4 separate regions of the Homo sapiens genome follow, and regions 2, 3 and 4 are each linked to region 1. The links are contacts of gene promoters, found by promoter capture Hi-C in human tissues and cell types (Jung and others, 2019). All regions are on one chromosome and are shown on one strand. Each heading gives the region's core, a stretch centred on a gene start or on the middle of the fragment in contact. The rest is flanking DNA. Distances are from core to core; before and after follow the strand shown.

The links. The method cuts DNA at HindIII sites, captures the fragments that hold promoters and counts their contacts. A contact is called where the count stands out against the background at its distance.
Region 2: a contact is called between a fragment that was not itself captured here and the fragment with the promoter of LRRC14B in region 1, in 4 of the 25 tissues and cell types used here (IMR-90 fibroblasts, lymphoblastoid cells, mesenchymal stem cells and 1 more).
Region 3: a fragment that was not itself captured here is called in contact with the fragment with the promoter of LRRC14B in region 1 in 1 of the 25 tissues and cell types used here (spleen).
Region 4: a contact is called between a fragment that was not itself captured here and the fragment with the promoter of LRRC14B in region 1, in 3 of the 25 tissues and cell types used here (IMR-90 fibroblasts, mesendoderm cells and thymus).

Annotation. Positions count from the first base shown.
Region 1 is chr5:190,056-192,755 of GRCh38, forward strand. LRRC14B (leucine rich repeat containing 14B) reads left to right here and starts at 1,440. Exons shown (of 2, transcript NM_001080478.3): 1 at 1,440-2,382. The coding sequence starts at 1,484. It overlaps LOC124900929 (a long non-coding RNA gene), which reads right to left. Exons shown (of 2, transcript XR_007058670.1): 2 at 2,673-2,700. RefSeq lists an enhancer at 1,105-1,154. The HindIII fragment of the contact is 15,773 bases long and covers 1-2,700 here.
Region 2 is chr5:31,963-34,662 of GRCh38, forward strand. The region is part of intron 2 of LOC105374602 (a long non-coding RNA gene); the gene reads right to left. Among named protein-coding and RNA genes, the nearest start is that of PLEKHG4B, 59 kb to the right of the region's middle. The HindIII fragment of the contact is 4,384 bases long and covers 1-2,700 here.
Region 3 is chr5:415,242-417,941 of GRCh38, forward strand. All of the region lies in intron 5 of AHRR (aryl hydrocarbon receptor repressor), which reads left to right. The region is part of intron 7 of PDCD6-AHRR (PDCD6-AHRR readthrough (NMD candidate)); the gene reads left to right. Among named protein-coding and RNA genes, the nearest start is that of EXOC3-AS1, 27 kb to the right of the region's middle. RefSeq lists an enhancer at 1-448. The HindIII fragment of the contact is 5,097 bases long and covers 1-2,700 here.
Region 4 is chr5:50,562-53,261 of GRCh38, forward strand. LOC105374602 (a long non-coding RNA gene) reads right to left here and starts at 442. Exons shown (of 3, transcript XR_001742541.1): 1 at 265-442. RefSeq lists an enhancer at 737-1,650. The HindIII fragment of the contact is 8,408 bases long and covers 1-2,700 here.

The DNA of each region.
Region 1 (2,700 bases), core at 190-2,689:
AGCCCGGGGGCCCACATCGGCTGGCCGAGGGCGGCCACCCCTGAAGGGTGGGGTCAGGGCCCACCCACCTCTTCACACACACCTCCGCCTGCTGGACAGTGCCTGGGCCCCACAACGGAGCACAGTCCCTTCTGCATGGGTCGCCTCCCGGGGAGAGGCATTGCTCAGGCTCAGGGAACAAACTGGGGAGGGTCAGACAGGGAGGCTGGTGGGGCACCCATGACCAGCACCCTCCAAGCTTGCTCAGCAGCCTTCCCCCTCCCACTGCTGTTTCTCTTTCTGTCTCCCCGTCTGTCTGTCTTTCTCAGTCTCTGTCTCTGCCTACCAGTCTCTCTCTCTCTCTCTTAGTCTCTGTCTCTCCCTTTCTGTCTCTCTCTCAGTCTGTCTCTTTCTGTTTCCCTTTCTCTCTCCCTCAGTCTCTGTCTCTCTCCCTCTTAGTTTCTGTCCCTCTGTCTCTGTCTCAGTCTCCGTCACTCACTTCTCTCAGTCTCCCTCAGCCTCTGTCTCATGGCCGTGACCCTCCAAAGCCCATGGACACGTGGTGCCCTGTAGTGATGTGTGCAGTGATGTGTGCAGCGATGTGTGCTGACCCTGCCCTGAGTGGCAGTGTCACGGGGAGAGGTGAGTGCAGCACCCATCAGCTGTCCAACACGGTCAGTGCTGGGAGTGAACCATCAGGCACCGCCCCCCAACACAGGTGTATCCCATTCCCTGCAGCTTTCCCTGCCGCACAGGCGGCAGGGTTGCAGACAGGACACTGCAGCTCAGAGAGAGCTGGGGGCTCATCCGAGGCCATCAGGGAGGCTCCACCTCTCCCAGCCACTCTCTCCCATGGAAAGTAGGGAAGCCACCCCCGCCGGGTCCTTGGGGAGAAGGAAAGGCACAGGGAAGGGGCAAAACAGCAGCTCCATTCCTGGCCACTCGTCTCACCCCAGATGCGAGGCGAAGTGTGGGAGCGGCCCCAGAGGCCACTGTGGAAAGGGAACTGGTTACCGAGTGAGGCGCAGGGGCCTGGCCTGTTCTCTGCCCCGTTGACTGGTGGGGGAGGTGCCCAGAGCTGGGCAGTAGCCCCGCTTGGATGGTAAACAGGACCTGCCCGCTGGCCTCACCGGCCGCCAGCACGAACGCCTGCCAAGACTGGCTTTCTGCAGCATGGAGCACAGGCTTCTCTGCCCAGCCCTGCCATGGGCACGGGCTGCCTTTCTGTGTCGGCTGGGTGCCTGAGCCAAGCAGCTCCCAACGGCTGGGTGCCTGAGCCAAGCAGCTCCCAACGGCTGGGTGCCTGAGCCAAGCAGCTCCCAACGGCTGCGTGCCCCGAGGCCGGGCAGACGCAGGTGTCCCAGGACCAAAATAGCAGTCAGATGATCATAAGGCCCCGTGGCAGGGCCCCCAGGGCAGGCTGCTCACAGCTGCTGCAGCTAAAGATAGGCGTGAAGGGCACACGCCTTGGGGAAAGTCGTGGGGAGCGGTCCTGTCTCGGGCCATGGACACAATGAGGTCACTCCGCTTCATTTCTGCAGAAGCTCTGGTGTCCCACCCCCAGGTGGCCCGGCAGAGCCTGGACAGCGTGGCCCACAACCTCTACCCACTCCTGTTCAAAGCCAGCTACCTGCTGGAGCAGGCGGAGGTGACGCGCGCGGTGCTGGGGCGCTGGCCCCTGGAGGAGTTCCGGCTGGGAGCGCTGCTGGGTCCTGGTGCCGACCACCCCCAGGACCTGCGCGACAGAACCTGCAGGGCCTGCCTGGAGGCGCTGGTGCGCGGCCTCGCGGACCACGTGCTGCAGGACCGGAGCCGCCGGCGGCTGCGGGTGGCTGACCTCACGGGCATCCGAGATGTGCAGGTGCAGCGGTGCCCGTGCGGGAGGGCGCTGGGCAGGTGGGGCCGCACCCAGCTGCTGGCCAGGACCTGCTGTGAGCTGCAGGCAGAGCCCCTCGCAGCCGGGCGCCCCGTCGAGGTCCTCGCCGACCTCTTCGTCACTGAGGGCAACTTCGAGGCGGTGGTGCAGGCTCTGAGGCCAGCGGGCCCGGCCCCTCTGCGGGTGCACTGCCCCTCGTTCCGGGCGGACAGCCTGAGCCCCAGCCAGCTCCTGCACGTGCTGCGTCTGGCTGGCCCGGGTGCCCTGCGCAAGCTGGAGGTGGTGCACAACGTGCGGCTGCATGCGGGCCACGTGCAGCAGCTTCTGGCCCAGGTGGGCTTCCCCCGGCTGGCCTCGCTCACCCTGCCCACCAAGGCCTTTGATGCACCCCCCACCTACGCCTCCACTCCCGACGGCGAGGACCCCCTCCTCGCCTCCATCGCCCGGGAGCTCAGCAAGATGGCGCAGCTCACTGAGCTCAGTGTGGCCTTCTCCACGCTGACCGGGAAGATCCCGACGCTGCTTGGGTGAGTCTTGGGGAGGGGACTGAGGGCGGGCTGGTGGCTGCAGAGGCAAGGAGAGATCGTCCAGGGGCCTGCTCATGTCCAAGGCCATGAGGCTACACGGCCTCCAGCCTCTCACTCCGGGTGTGGCCACAGCCACAGGACAGCGGCCCCGCCAAGGGGCAAGAGCACCGAAAGTCAGAGCCACCAGGAAAGAAGCGGGCTGCCATGTGTGACTTAGGGATGTGGAGAGAATGCCAGTTAAAAAAAGAGAATACGGAAATTACCAAACAGACGAAACAGAAGTGCCTACGTGGTGTGAGGAGTTGTCTATTGTTGATG
Region 2 (2,700 bases), core at 92-2,591, 160 kb before region 1:
TATAAATTATATAGACTTAAAAACACATCAGCTAATCACAATGTATGAATTTTGTTTGGGAATATAGACAGAACAGAATTGTCCATGTGTTTCTGGTTGCTCTGAAGGGTTATAGATATATAGGGGTTTGTTATATTCATTGTTTATTTACATATATGTTTTTAAATCTCCATATAAAGGTTTTAAAAATTCCGTTGGAAGACTTATGTTTTAAAATGTACTCAGAATTTGTTTTAATCGGGGATGTTAAGACCTGCAGACATGGAAGTGACTGTCCTGTGGAAATATGTTCATACTCACAGATCCCTAGAAATAGGAGGCACAGGGAAGCCCCAGGCACAGGCAGGAGAGGGGAAGGCATGGGCAGGAGCCTCTGCTGTGATCTCCGTGGGACAGCAAGGCCAGGCAGGGCAGGCAGGCTTAGGCTGGCCAGCCTGAATAGCTTCAGCAGGCTCTGGGGCATAGGGGCCATCTCTAATTGCCTAGTACCTGGCCCTGGGGTGATTAGGGAAGGGCGGTATTGTCTCTTACAGTATCAGAGCCAGATAAAGTAGGTGGTTAAGAGTGCGGGTTTTGGATTGATAGTTTAATTGGCTGGCCCTGGGAAAGGCAATCTTTTCCCAGTAAACACCAGATGCTAGAGCATCAGGAAAATAGAAAATAAAAAAAATAATTAATGCATTCTGTACGCACAGATGGAGAATTCCTTTGCTTCCCCAAAGGAAGAGTGCACAGGAGCCTGGCACTCCTGGACCTGAGGAAACCCTGAAAATGTTGGTAGCTGCAAATCTCCAAAAAGAGGTCGCCAGTCTCCTAAGACTGCAAGACTGACCCAGCATTCTGGGAGCCAAGAGGCAGAAAGAGTCTGCGGATCTCCCTGCTCAGTAAATTGGCTTTCACTAAATACTCTCTTTGCATAAGCAGCGTTACCCAGTGTCCTGGAGCTTAGAAAAGTCCTGTTTCAATGTCTGAAGAAAATAAATTGTTTCTTTTTCCAGTGTCAGGGAGGAGTATTTGACTGCCAGTGTGGACTGAGGGGTCTTGGGATCACACTCTTCCCAATGTGCTTTGAACCGACCCTCTGTGCCTGCCTCACCATCTCCTCTGCTTACCTAGACATGTGGAAACCCTAACACAAGCCCTTCTAGGAGTCTGTGGTGTGGCTCAGCTGCCTCTGTAGTCATCTCTCTTCCCAATATGCTTTGAACTGGCCCTTCTGTGTCTGCCTCACCATCTCCTCTCCTTACCTAGACACTTGAGAACCCTAACACAAACCCTTCTAGGAGTCTGTGGTGTGGCTCAGCTGCCTCTGTAGGCATCTCTTGGGGTTAAACATTTTCCACTCTCCTAAGGCAGTGCCATCTATTCTTCTGCTTCATCTTCAGAAGACACTGAGCCCTTCCCCACCCTCCCTTCCCCACCCCCCACACCAGGTCCATGGCGCCCTTGAGGCCACAGGGTTGCTGCCATAAGATTTTTGTACTGACTGCTCTCTCCAAGCAACTGTGAGAGATTTCTATGGGCAAGGCCTCCAGGTTCCTGTCAAATCAAATTGTAGTTGAATGTTGGATACTATTCAAGGAGCATCCCCTTTTCTCCTTCCTAACAGAGCCCTGAGTTATTCAGTCACATGGTTTGAAATATGGGGTGGGTGCTGGTTGACTTAACCTAACCAGCACTGTCTCACCCTATGTCACAGTTATTGGTTCCAAGGTGGGTGCGCAACTGAGGCTCATGCCAGGTGCCACACAGCACTCCCTTGGTCCCCCTAATGGACTTGGGGATGGGCAAGGGCCTGAGTTGTTCCAATTAGAGTCAAATACAAGTTGTACTAAGAGAGTGCTTGTTCATGCTCCCTCTTTGATGAAGAATGCAGCCTCAGAAATTATTCCTGGAGATTTTGCCATGCTAAGACTGATTCTGACTTCACTGAAGGCAGAGCAGAAAATTGGGAAGAGACTGAGTCCTGGGTAGCATCCATGAACTTCTGTGCTCAGATTCACCCTGAAGCCTGGCCTGCTTCTGAACTACCCATCTGAGTCAATAAATTGCCTTCTTATTAAAGTCAAATTGAGCTGGATTTTTAGTTACCTGCATCTGCAGTTGTTCTGTGAAGCTAATACTATGAGTTTGTATCTGAGAATATTTACAGTGCTTCTCTCATGGTTGAGTCAATCATTTCAAGGGTGCTTTAAGGGTAAAAAGAATGATCAATTGTGAAGCAGTGAATTATGCTGCCAGGCACAATTCATTGGGCAATATAAAACTTCATTTCCTGGGCAGTAGAAAGTTTCATTGTACATAAATTACATATCTTGTTTCTGCCTCAACCTCCTATTTATTCATAGGCAAAGGAGATAAGGAAGTCCACATAAGTCCAGCAGCTAATATGCCTCTCGGGCATCATCCAAAACAGATTTGAATTATGCAAGCCTTGTTAAAATTCATCATCATCATTCATATTTCTGAATATTTAAATTAGAAATTCTGAAAAAGTAGTTTGATTCAGAGGTAGTTTGTATATATGTAGGCATTTTTTCAGGATCAAAAGCTTATTTTTTATTGTCTAATTGAGTTTAATTTACATATAATAAAATTTAGTAATTTTAAGTGAAGAAATCAATGCATTTTGACTAATATATATAGTCATGTACACAACACTACCATTTCACTTCTCTTGGTTGAAAACATACGAGGAAT
Region 3 (2,700 bases), core at 49-2,548, 230 kb after region 1:
GAGCCAGCATTCACGCTGAGCCAGAGGCAGCACACGGTGATTAAAGCAAAAATCTGCCTGGTCGGGTGGGAGGCCTAGGGGCCGAATCTGCCTGGTGGGGCGGGAGGCCTAGGGGCCGAGTCTCCCTGGTCGGGTGGGAGGCCTAGGGGCCGAGTCTGCCTGGTCGGGTGGGAGGCCTAGGGGCCGAATCTGCCTGGTCGGGCGGGAGGCCTAGGGGCCGAGTCTGCCTGGTCGGGTGGGAGGCCTAGGGGCCGAGTCTCCCTGGTCGGGTGGGAGGCCTAGGGGCCGAGTCTGCCTGGTCGGGTGGGAGGCCTAGGGGCCGAATCTGCCTGGTCTGCTGGGAGGCCTAGGGGCCGAATCTGCCTGGTGGGGCGGGAGGCCTAGGGGCCGAATCTGCCTGGTGGGGCGGGAGGCCTAGGGGCCGAATCTGCCTGGTCGGGCGGGAGGCCTAGGGGCGGAGTCTGCCTGGTCGGCTGGGAGGCCTAGGGGCTGTGCAGAGCAGCAGGCAGTGGAAGCCACGAACCACCCCGCTCGCCCACACTAGTCCCTGACAAGTCATTAGAATTCACGTCTGCGCAGGCCCTGAGGCTGCACAGTTTTATCCAATTTCCATAAGAGCTGGGCTTTTGAATTTTTTCCCACAGCTGAAATTGCTGCTGCCTTGCTGGTGATTCTGCAAAAAAACTCCTCTAGTCCGCCTCTAAGTTCAATCTCCTGCCCCTGAGCCCAAGGCCAGTCTCCCTGTGAACTGCAAGGACCACGTGACTGCCGGGCCCATTGCAGTGAGCTTGTTTTCTGCACCGTGGCTGTGTCTGCACACTGGATGCCTCCTTGGGATGGCCTCTCCCCCAGCATCCACGTGAAGGTGCAGCTCGTCAGCACGCCTGGGCTGGCCCTGGTGGAGGACGCAGGGGGACATGGCTGTGTGCAGGGAGAGGGAACACCGTGCAGTGGACATGGCTGCCAAGGGGTGTCCAGGCCACTGCCCTGTTGGGAACGCAGTGCAGGGTGGAGACACAGCTCTGCTGTCCCAGCAGCGACCTTGATGGCTCTGAGCCTCATTTCCTGTGCCCACACAATGGCCAGCAGCGGTGTTTGCCTGCCAGGCTGTGGCCAGACCACGGGGCCACTGAGCAGGGGAGTGCTGGGAAAAGCCCTGGTGCCCGGCACGGCGTCTCCTACCACAGAGTGACATCGCTCTAGGCGGCTGCTGTTGACACCACGTGACCACAGGCTTTGCTGAGTGTGCCCTGGTATCTGTGGTTGGGGCACTGTCATCTCCTGATGCGCCCTGTGAGAGGGGACCTGAAGTGACGCCTGGTGGGTCCCTCGTTCCCACAGATGGCATCAGCGTCTGGGTGGCCACCCGGCATCCTCTTCATCTCCATCTTCTGTGCTCAGATCCCATGGAGCTGCCGTGGGATGCTTCCTTTACACGTGTGGAGAGTAGTGGAGTGGGTCCGTTGGGTCCGTAGGCGTTTGCTGGGGTTTGGTGCATCCTTCACTGTGGGGTGCCGTGAACGGGGGAGCACTCACAGTACAGGACATGGGCGGACATGACGGTGTGGCTCGATGACTTTGTCAACTTAAACAGAGCAGCTTCGGCTTGGTCTTTTTGTGCAGGGCCCATGTCTAGAGAAGGTGGCTTGGTCCATATGTGCAGGTCCCGAGTCTAGAGAAGGCGGCTTGGTCTTTATGTGCAGGGCCCGAGTCTAGAGAAGGCCGCTTGGTCTGTATGTGCAGGGCCCGAGTCTAGAGAAGGCGGCTTGGTCTTTATGTGCAGGGCCCATGTCTAGAGAAGGTGGCTTGGTCTGTATGTGCAGGGCCCGAGTCTAGAGAAGGCCGCTTGGTCCGTATGTGCAGGGCCCGAGTTTAGAGAAGGCGGGGTCTGTATGTGCAGGGCCTGAGTCTGGAGAAGGCCGCTTGGTGTGTATGTGCAGGGCCCATGTCTAGAGAAGGTGGCTTGGTCTGTATGTGCAGGGCCCGAGTCTAGAGAAGGCGGCTTGGTCTGTATGTGCAGGGCCTGAGTCTGGAGAAGGCGGCTTGGTCCATATGTGCAGGTCCCGAGTCTAGAGAAGGCCGCTTGGTCTGTATGTGCAGGGCCTGAGTTTAGAGAAGGCGGCTTGGTCCGTATGTGCAGGGCCCGAGTTTAGAGAAGGTGGCTTGGTCTGTATGTGCAGGGCCTGAGTCTGGAGAAGGTGGCTTGGTCTGTATGTGCAGGGCCCGAGTCTAGAGAAGGCCGCTTGGTCTGCCTTCTGCATGCTCAGAATCACTGTCAACTCTAGTTACTGCATCTTGAGCTGCCCTGAGTTCTCCAGATGCACCCAGAGCCGCTGCCTTTAGCCATGGCTCGATGGTCTCACCCCAGGGTTTGGCTTTGGGGACTGGGGCAGGTGCTGTGCAGAGCAGCTTTGATTCCAGGTCAGAACTTGCTAATTGGACTTTTTGTTTTCTTGGCACTTGGTCATTTTTCCCCAAGCATGAGAAGTTAAAAAAAAAAAGTTTTGCCTTGATTATGAGGAAATTGGTTCCAAATGCCATTAAATCAGGCATTGCCTCTAGTTTATGCAAAATATCTCATGAAAAAATTAGAGCAGCTTTGTGCTTGTGTGAGCTTATTGTGCAAAATGCTTTACAAAAAGTCAGGAACCAATTATTCCCAGTCACAGCATGAGTGCATGATTTCAGTGTCTTCAAGCT
Region 4 (2,700 bases), core at 151-2,650, 140 kb before region 1:
AACCCCATACCCCTACCCCTAAACCCTAACCCCAATTCCAACCCCAACCCTAACTGTAACCCTAACACTTACCCGTGACCCTAACTTCAACCCTAACCCTGACTTTAACGCTAAGCTCAAACCCTCACTCGCCCGGGTGCTCATTTCCACACCCACTCCGGTGCCGGGTCTCGCCTCTATCCACCTTGTCCCTCGTCCGTGCCCCCGCTCACTCCGGCGCCCGGCTGCTGCCCCACCCGCTTCGGTGCTTGTGCCCTCACCTACCCTGGCGCCAGGACCGCCTCTGCTGACTGCGCGCTGAGACTCATGCTGTCTCCGGGTCCCCGGAACTCCGCGGAGTCCGGTTAACTCCAACGCCTAATCCTAATTCCAAACCTGGGGATGCCCGGGGCCCGGCGTCTTCATCCCGCTGGGCACTGGGCCGGGGAAGCTGACCCGGCGACCTCAGCTGCCCGGTTCCCGGGGACCTGCCCGATCCAGGGCCCCCGCGGCGAGAGATGGGCGGTGGCGGCGCGGCGCTGCAGGACGCAGTCTCCCCCGGCCTCGCCCTCTCCGTCCCGGCGGGGCCGTAGTATCCCCGCGGAGGCTCGGAGGGGCCGGCCTGGGTGGGGCATCTCCCTGGTCTGCAGTTCTGGTTGTTTTTTTGTGGCTCCATGGTAAGCACCCCACTGATCTTATATCTTCCCCCCTTTTCCTGAAAGTCTGTTTTTTCATCCTTCCTTCCTTTTCATCATCTCCCGTTTTCAAAACGGCTCTTAAACCATGCGCAATGCGTTAACGTTAAGTCGTCATTTCCATCTACTCAATGACAACGTTTTATCACGTGTTGTTCTGACTTCCATTTTTGTTGTGTATTTGGTTCCTTGTTCTTTTTCTTTTCTTCCTGGGCTGGTTCCTCGTTCACTCTTTCTAGGTATGAGTGAACGGTTCCTTCCGGCTTGTCTAAATCTTCCATCTTTCGGGGTGGGTGGTGCTGAGCGGGCTCCAGGTGTGCGCCCTGCTCCTGCGAGGCGTGTGAGCGCTTATCGCACCCATGGCCCCTGCGCGCCTCTGTCCTGCCGGGTTCCCGCAGAGGCGCCTGGTCCACACGCTGTTTCTCCCTCTTCGCCTCCTCTCTAGCCCAGACTCCGGAGCAGGTCCCGGCTGCGTCTCCCACGTCTGGGTGTAGACCCGCGGTGTGGGCAGCCCTTCCTTTCGCTGCAGCCGAGTCTCCGCTATTACCGTTCAAGTTGTCCCTGGGTGGATTCTGAAAGGACAAGGGGGAAACGGCCCGCTCTACTCCATGGCGGGTCACTGACCTTCTGTTACATTTTATTTTACGTTGCCTTTGGCAGTTTTGAAACTGACCAATCCTTTTTGGAAATAAGAGAAGGTATAAAACCAAAAATGTTTTTTCAGTTCCTTTCTGAAAATGTGCTCGTTTTGGAGCCACTTGTGAGGACAAAGAGTTTGGAAAATTTAAGTGTCTCTACTTCTTCACTGTGTTTTGCTAACAAGAATGAAAAAAAAAGCATTAAAAATGGCCTTAATAAACGTCTTTCAACCTCAAACAGGACTATGTTATCAGGTAAACTATGTTATTTTCAACAAATCTTAAGTTCCTACCGCAATGGAGAGACTTTAGGTCCGTAAAGAGCAGTTGAGGCCGGGCACGGTGGCTCACACCTGTAATCCCAGCACTTTGGGAGGCCGAGGTGGGCGGATCACCTGAGGTCAGGAATTCAAGACCAGCCCGACCAACATAGTGAAACCCCGTCTCTACTAAGAATACAAAAATTAGCTGGACTTGGTGGCACACGCCTGTAATCCCAGTTACTCAGGAGGCTGAGGCAGGAGCATCGCTTGAACCAGGAGGCACAGGTTGCAGTGAGTGGAGACGGCGCCACCGCACTCCAGCCTGGGCAACAGAATGAGACTCAGTCTCAAAAAAAAAAAAAAAAAAAAAAAAAAAAAAAAAAAGCAGGCAGTTGAAACGCTTCCTCGGCAAGAAATAGACCTTTATGCGTGGCGGGGGACAGTCAGGGCGACAGGGGCTTCCCGAAGCTCACTGCCCAGAGGAGCAGAGTTTCAAGTTTGTTCTCCTTTCTTTTTTAGAGACAGGGTCTCGCCCTGTCGCCCAGGCTGGAGGGCAGTGGCGCGATCTCGGCTCACTGCAGCCTCCGCCTCCCGGGCTCAAGCAATCCTCCCGCCTCAGCCTCCGGAGTAGCTGGGACCACAGGTGCGCCAGGCTAATTTTATTTTTACTTTTTGTAGAGAAGGGGGTCTCACTACGTTGCCCAGGCTGGAAGTTTATTTTTAAGGAAATGGCGTTTACCTAAACACCAGGAAGCCTGGCCCTAGCACTACTGCGCCTCCACCTCAGCCCCCACTCCACCCGCACAGGTGAGGGTGCTCCGGAAAGGCTCCTGGGGCCCGGCTTCTTCATCTCCAGCCTCCGCACCTGGCGGAGGGAAGGGCTCGCCCCTAACCTGAGGTCAGAACTTGTTCGGGACCGCCGGGTGGAGACAAGGACGCGGGAACAAAACGTATGTGTGTGTTGGGGGGTGTTGCTGCGAGAGCGGGCAAGGGCGGGGACGCCGCGCTGACCCGGTCCTGGATCCCACCCGCGCTGGGCTCAGGGCCGCGGGTTCGGGTCCTGCCGGGCGTCCCACGCACCGGGGACGGGCACGAAACCGTCCACCTGCCTCAGACCTCGGCTGA